Regions from separate parts of the Homo sapiens genome. Here region 1 is linked to region 2. Evidence: promoter capture Hi-C in human tissues and cell types (Jung and others, 2019). All regions are on one chromosome and are shown on one strand. The core of a region is centred on a gene start or on the middle of the fragment in contact, and the rest is flanking DNA. Distances in the headings are between cores, read along the strand shown. Region 1 has its middle 95 kb from the start of SLC38A11. Region 2 holds the start of SCN3A (sodium voltage-gated channel alpha subunit 3).

Region 1 (3,226 bases), core at 424-2,923, 150 kb before region 2:
ACCATTCAATATTTTAAAAACAGCTAAAATGTGAGGAATAGTGAATGCTTTTTTTTTTTTTTTTTTGAGACAGAGTCTTGCTCTGTTGCCCAGGCTGGAGTGCAGTGGCACAATCTGGGCTCAACGCAAGCTCCGCCTCCCGGGTTCACGCCATTCTCCTGCCTCAGCCTCCCAAGTAGCTGGGACTACAGGCGCCGGCCACAACGCCTGGCTAATTTTTTGTATTTTTAGTAGAGATGGGGTTTCACCATGCTAGCCAGGATGGTCTCGATCTCCTGACCTCGCGATCCACCCGCCTCGGCCTCCCAAAGTGCTGGGATTACAGGCATGAGCCACTGCGCCCAGCCCGTGAATGCTTTTAACAGATAAACTTTTGGCCATTTTTAGAAGCAATTTATGTGATATTGAGTATTCTTAAACTACTATGTTATTTTTACTTTTTGGTCCGACATTTATAGAGCAGTAAAAACATTCTGAAGTGTATCATTTTAACCAAATACACTTCCATTAAATCTATTTTTATTTTTGCTTTAAATCTTGTCCATACCTTCCTACACCACCCTTTATCACCTATTCACTAGCAAATCAAGAGCTATTATTTTTGTAGTTTCAGAAAAACTTCAAGTTTAAAAGCTGCCCATTGTATTTACATTAAAAATTATTATTATTATTTTCTGAGACAGAGTCTCATTCTGATTCTCAGGCTGGAGTACAGTAGTTCAATCATAGCTTATGGCAGCCTTCATTTCTTGGGCTCGAACAATCATCCCACCTTAGTTGCCTGAGTAACTGGGACTTCAAACACTCACAACCATGCCCAGTTAATTAAAAAAAAAAAATTGTAGAGATGGGGTCTCACTATGTTGCCCAGGTTGGTCTTTCCTGGCCTCAAGCAATTCTCCATCCTTGGCCTCCTAAAGTGATTGCAAATTTCCCTAAATTAATGTCATACACCAAGCCACAGATCCAGGAAACTCAGAGAACACAGAGCAGGATAAATGCCAAAAGAGCTATGCCTAGGCATATCATATTCAAACTAGAAAAACATTCAAGGGTAAATTAAAAATCTTGGTAGAAGCCAGAAGAAAAGAACATCTTATCTATAGAAAACCAAAGATAAGGATTACATCGAACATCTCCTCAGAAACCATGCAAGCAAGAAGACAGTGGAGTGAAATAAATTCAAGGGTTAAAAGAAAGAAAACACTAACCTAGGTGTCAGTACCTTATAAAATTTTCCTTCAAAAGTGAAGAAAAAATATTAGACAAACAAAAACTGAGAAAATGTGTTGCCAGTAGACTTGCCTTGCAAGAAATGTCAAAAGACATTTTTTAGAAAGAAGGAAAATAATATAGGTCAGATACTTAGTTCTATATAAAGAAAGAAAGAACATCAGAGGAGGCAAAAGTTAAGGTAAAGTAAAAACTTCTATTTTTCTTATTTTTAATTGACCTTACAGATAACAGTTTGTTCAAAATAATAACAACAATTAATTCAACTGTGTATGCTTATATCCAACTATCTATCTAGATATGCTTATGTATACTTATGTATAAGTGAAATGAATGTCAATAATGATACAAGGGATGGAAGAAAGGAATTGAGATTATTCTGTTACTATAAGATACTTGTACCACCTGTGAAGCTATACAGTGGCATTTGAAAGTAGACTTGGATTAATTGTAAATGTATAATTCAAACTCCAAGGCAACAACTAAAAAAAAGTAAAAAATAAAGTATAATTGGTATGCTAAGAAAGGAGAGAAAATGGAATTATATAAAAGGCTCAATTAAAACTGCAAAGAGGCAGAAAAAGTATGAAAGACAAAAAGGGAATGAAGAACAAAGGCAACAAATAGAAAATGGTAACAAACATGGTAGATATTAATTTAACTATATCATTTATTACTTTAAATGTCCATTTTCCAAATATAACAATCAAAAGCCATAAATTGTCAGAGTGGATGGAAAAATAATCTCCAGCTCTATGTTGTCTACAAGAAACTCACATTACACATAAAGACATATATACATTAAAGGTAAAGAAATAGAAAACCTATACCATGCTAACATTAATCAAAGGAAAGCAGTAATACCTATATTAATTTCAGACAAAATAGACTTTAGAGCAAGTAACTTTATTGGATAAAAATAGGCATTGCATAATGATAAAGGGTCAATTCCTCATGAAGACATAACAATGCTTAACTTGCATGTGCCTAAAAAAGGAGCATCAAAACAAGTGAGGCAAAAACAGATAGAACTGAGAGAAGAACTAAACGAATCCACTATGTAGTTGGAGGCTTCAACACCTCTCTATTAGAAATGAACAGATTCAACAGACAGAAAATCAGTAAGAATGTAGTTGAACTCAACAACACTATTAATCAACTGGATATAATTGACATCTATAGTCTACTTCATCTAACAATAGCAGAATACACATTCTTCTCAAGCTCACATGGAATATTTACCAAGAAAAGCCACATTTTGGGTGATAATACCTACTTTAATAAATTTTAAAGAATAGAAATCATACAATGTTTGCTCTCAGAACACAGTGGAATTAAACTAGAAATCAATAACAAAAAGATAACTGGAAAAATCCCAAAATACTTGCAGATTAAGCAAAACATCACTAAGTAACATGTGGATCAAAGGAGAAATTTCAAGAGATGACAAAAAAAAATTTAATAAAATAAAAATAAAAGCACAACAAAATTTTGGGGATGCAGCAGTGAAAGTAGTGCTTAGAGGAAATTTTTTAGCATTCAATGCATATATTAAAAAATAAGAAAGATTTAAAATTAAGAATCTTAGTTTCTACTTTAAGAAACTAGCAATGGAAGAGCAAATTAAATTCAAAGTAAGTAGATGAAAAAAGATAATAAAAAATAAAGCAGAGATCAATGAAATTTAAAACAGGAAATCAACAGAGAAAATCAACGAAACCAAAAGCTTGTTCTCTGAAATTATCAATAAAACTAATATGCCTCCAGCCAGGCTAAGAAAAAAAGAGAGAGAGAGAGAGAGAACACAAATTACTAATATCAAAAATCAAAGAGGGGACATTACCACAGATTCCATGGATATTGAAAAGACAATAAAGGAACATTGTGAAGAATGCTATGCCCATAAAAATAATAACCTAGATGAAATGGACCAGTTCCTTGAAAAGCACAATCCGTTAAAACTCAAATAAGAAGAAATAGACAATCTAAATAG
Region 2 (2,865 bases), core at 341-2,840:
CATTTCTGGGAACCCTGTCCAAAGAAATAGTTTTCTTTATCTCCTATGGTAGGAATTCTTCTGAAATAGACAAGACCCAGGGCTCTCCTCTCAGGCAACCACTATTTTGAAATGTTTTTGGGGGGACTATTATTGCTACTCAATGTAAAATATTAAGTGAGATGTCAATATTTTTCAACATATCATTAGGAATTACAGTTTGGAGGCCTTAAGTTCTATTTTTGAAGCCCTTTTAGCCAGTACTGACTGGAAGCCCTGTTGAAATCAGAAGTCTTCATTTCATATAGGGCACACTCTATTTGGAGTGAATGTGATGAAATGTTTCCATGCAAATTCCTACAAGCACTTATGCCTTTATCTTTGTCCTCATAAGCCACATTATACTACCTGTTGTGTATTTTAAAACCCTGTATGATTTTTAAAACTTATCTTTCAATTAATATGTATAGATTTTCTGTCAATAATTTCTTATTCTAATTATGTGGTGGCTAACTGAATGAAACATTTATGGTTATGATATAGAATATTCTAAATACAACTACAGACAATATGGATCATAGATAAAGTAAATTATTGTTTTATGGCTCCAGTGGTTCTTCCTGGTAATTAATAAAAATAAACAGTTATTAAATATATACAGAAAAACAGCAATCTATCAAGCTTATAGAACAATTAAGAATATATAATAATCTTTAAATCAATAAATTAAAAGGTAAACATTTAATATAAAATGAATATATTAAAGGATAAAGAAGTAGCATATTATGGAACATATAGAGATTATTTTATTTTTTGAAGGTTCAACCTCTTTTAAATGGTTAGTATTGGTGTTCTTTTCTCTATGAAAACAGATTTTAGAGAAAAATGATAGTGTATTTCACAAAGCCAAACACCTCTATATTGTTATCACTCCCTATATGCATGGCCTCTCTAAAGCTGTTAAATAAAAAACTAAAGCACAAGAATGATAGTTCCAATTTCACTATACATTTATGTTTAAAAAATACTGGACACACTGGGCATTTAAATAGATGACATACAGCCAGGAAACTCATTAGACTAGCTTTAAGTATAATAAAAAATATTTTTTCTGAATACAATTAATCATAAGCATCTACAAAAACACAAGACCATTGATGCCTAGTATGTACCATAAATCACCATTTCCAGACAGGCTCTATTTTCTTTGAAAGATAAAGAAATAGTAAGCAGTTTACACATCAAACGATGCCTTTGGTTCCTGTAATTTACATTTAAACAACACTGGGTTAAAAATAGCAGCATGAAGATGATTTTAAAGTAAGGAAAATGACCTGGTAGCTAGGTTCTATGGTGCAGATAATGAAATGTTTTGTCAGCTTACCTGATAAAACAGAGCCTTATGAATTACAGCATAACAAAGCCCAGCATCCAAGATGGTTAGGGTATAACGTGTCTTCCTCTGCAGCTGTTCAGCTTTTTTTTTTTTTTTTTTTTTTGACCACAGAGGTTTACAAATTAGTTACAATTTTTTTTCTTTCTTTCTCTGTGGATAAGAAAACAAAGAGACCTTTCCAGAATCCTCTCTGCTTATGCCTCCGCTTCCTGTTCTGAGATTCACTCTATGGTACCCAACATATATCAGAAAACAGCTTTGAGGAAAAAAAAAAAGAAAGAAAAAAAGGCCGATCGCACTCAAAGTGGTACCGCCATCTACTGGCGGACACACACAAAATTGAGCCAAAGAAAAAACATTCCCATTATCCTCTGTCACAGGGAGGAAAGTAAACCTGCATGAAGCATGGGTAGTCATGAAAGTGCCCCAAGATGACAGTAGAGAGGTGATGTGAGCTAAAATTTCCCAACACACTAAAAAAATGTAACTTATCTACTACATATAAATATGTATGAGACCTTTTACATATTCAGTTATTTGCATCTCACTAATTTTTTTAAAAAATTTTATCACTTTGTTGTTTTGCATGATTGTTTCACACATAAACTACTAAAATTAAAAGATATATAAATTACTGTTTGAAAAATAGGTTTTAAGTTTACATTACCCTTTACGTGTAGAGTTTTGCGAAAGCTCCCTTGTGGCCTGCTCTAGTCTTTTGAAAACCTTTTCTCTTCCTGGGATGAATTATTTTCAAGGTGAGGAATTTGACTCCTTAGAGAACAGTGTAAACACATACTCACTGATAGTATTTTTGTGTTGCTTTCTGGTAAAACATTTGCAAGAAATATCTAAATGTAGAAAAAGATTCTATACATCAGTGAACCTAGCTAATATTATTTATTAGGATATTGAAGCACACAATACATAAAGAAAATAAAAATAATCCATCAGTTATTAAGATATTTCTCAATCCAGATGTATGTTATTGTTTCATCTGACCTTTCATATCTACTTTAGAGCAAACAACTATGATTTTATTACAGTTTATCATCAATTAAATAAATACATTCATATTGACAAACCAACTGTATGGATGGACAAAAATGATGTCAAGTATTATATTAGACTTGAAAAGACACAGAGAGAAACACACAGTGCCTGCCATAAAGGAGCTCATACAAAGAAGAAAAACAAATATAGCTGATACCATATTTCCCAGCCATGTGTTCAAGAACTGTTAATTACATACTTCGTTTTCAATTGTGGCCCCCATTTTGTCTAATGGCAGAAAAATAAATCTAGTCAGTTCCAGGTAAACTAAATTACTTGAGGCTTTTCCCAATGATTTTGGGTTTGCATTCAACCAATACATGATTTTCCTCTTCTATCTCTCCTTCTCATGGAGACTGATCTAAGTTCAGGATTGTGTACATATATAGAGAAAGCAGAGTATGATCCCGTTCCCCCTTTCTCCACATGGGCATCCA

What was found. Contacts are between HindIII fragments. The study calls those that stand out against the background at their distance.
Region 1: a fragment that was not itself captured here is called in contact with the fragment with the promoter of SCN3A in region 2 in 1 of the 25 tissues and cell types used here (mesenchymal stem cells).

Annotation. Positions count from the first base shown.
Region 1 is chr2:165,048,649-165,051,874 of GRCh38, forward strand. No RefSeq gene overlaps it. Among named protein-coding and RNA genes, the nearest start is that of SLC38A11, 95 kb to the left of the region's middle. The HindIII fragment of the contact is 4,338 bases long and covers 1-3,226 here.
Region 2 is chr2:165,202,460-165,205,324 of GRCh38, forward strand. It overlaps SCN3A (sodium voltage-gated channel alpha subunit 3), which reads right to left and starts at 1,591. Exons shown (of 28, transcript NM_006922.4): 1 at 1,364-1,591. The HindIII fragment of the contact is 11,221 bases long and covers 1-2,865 here.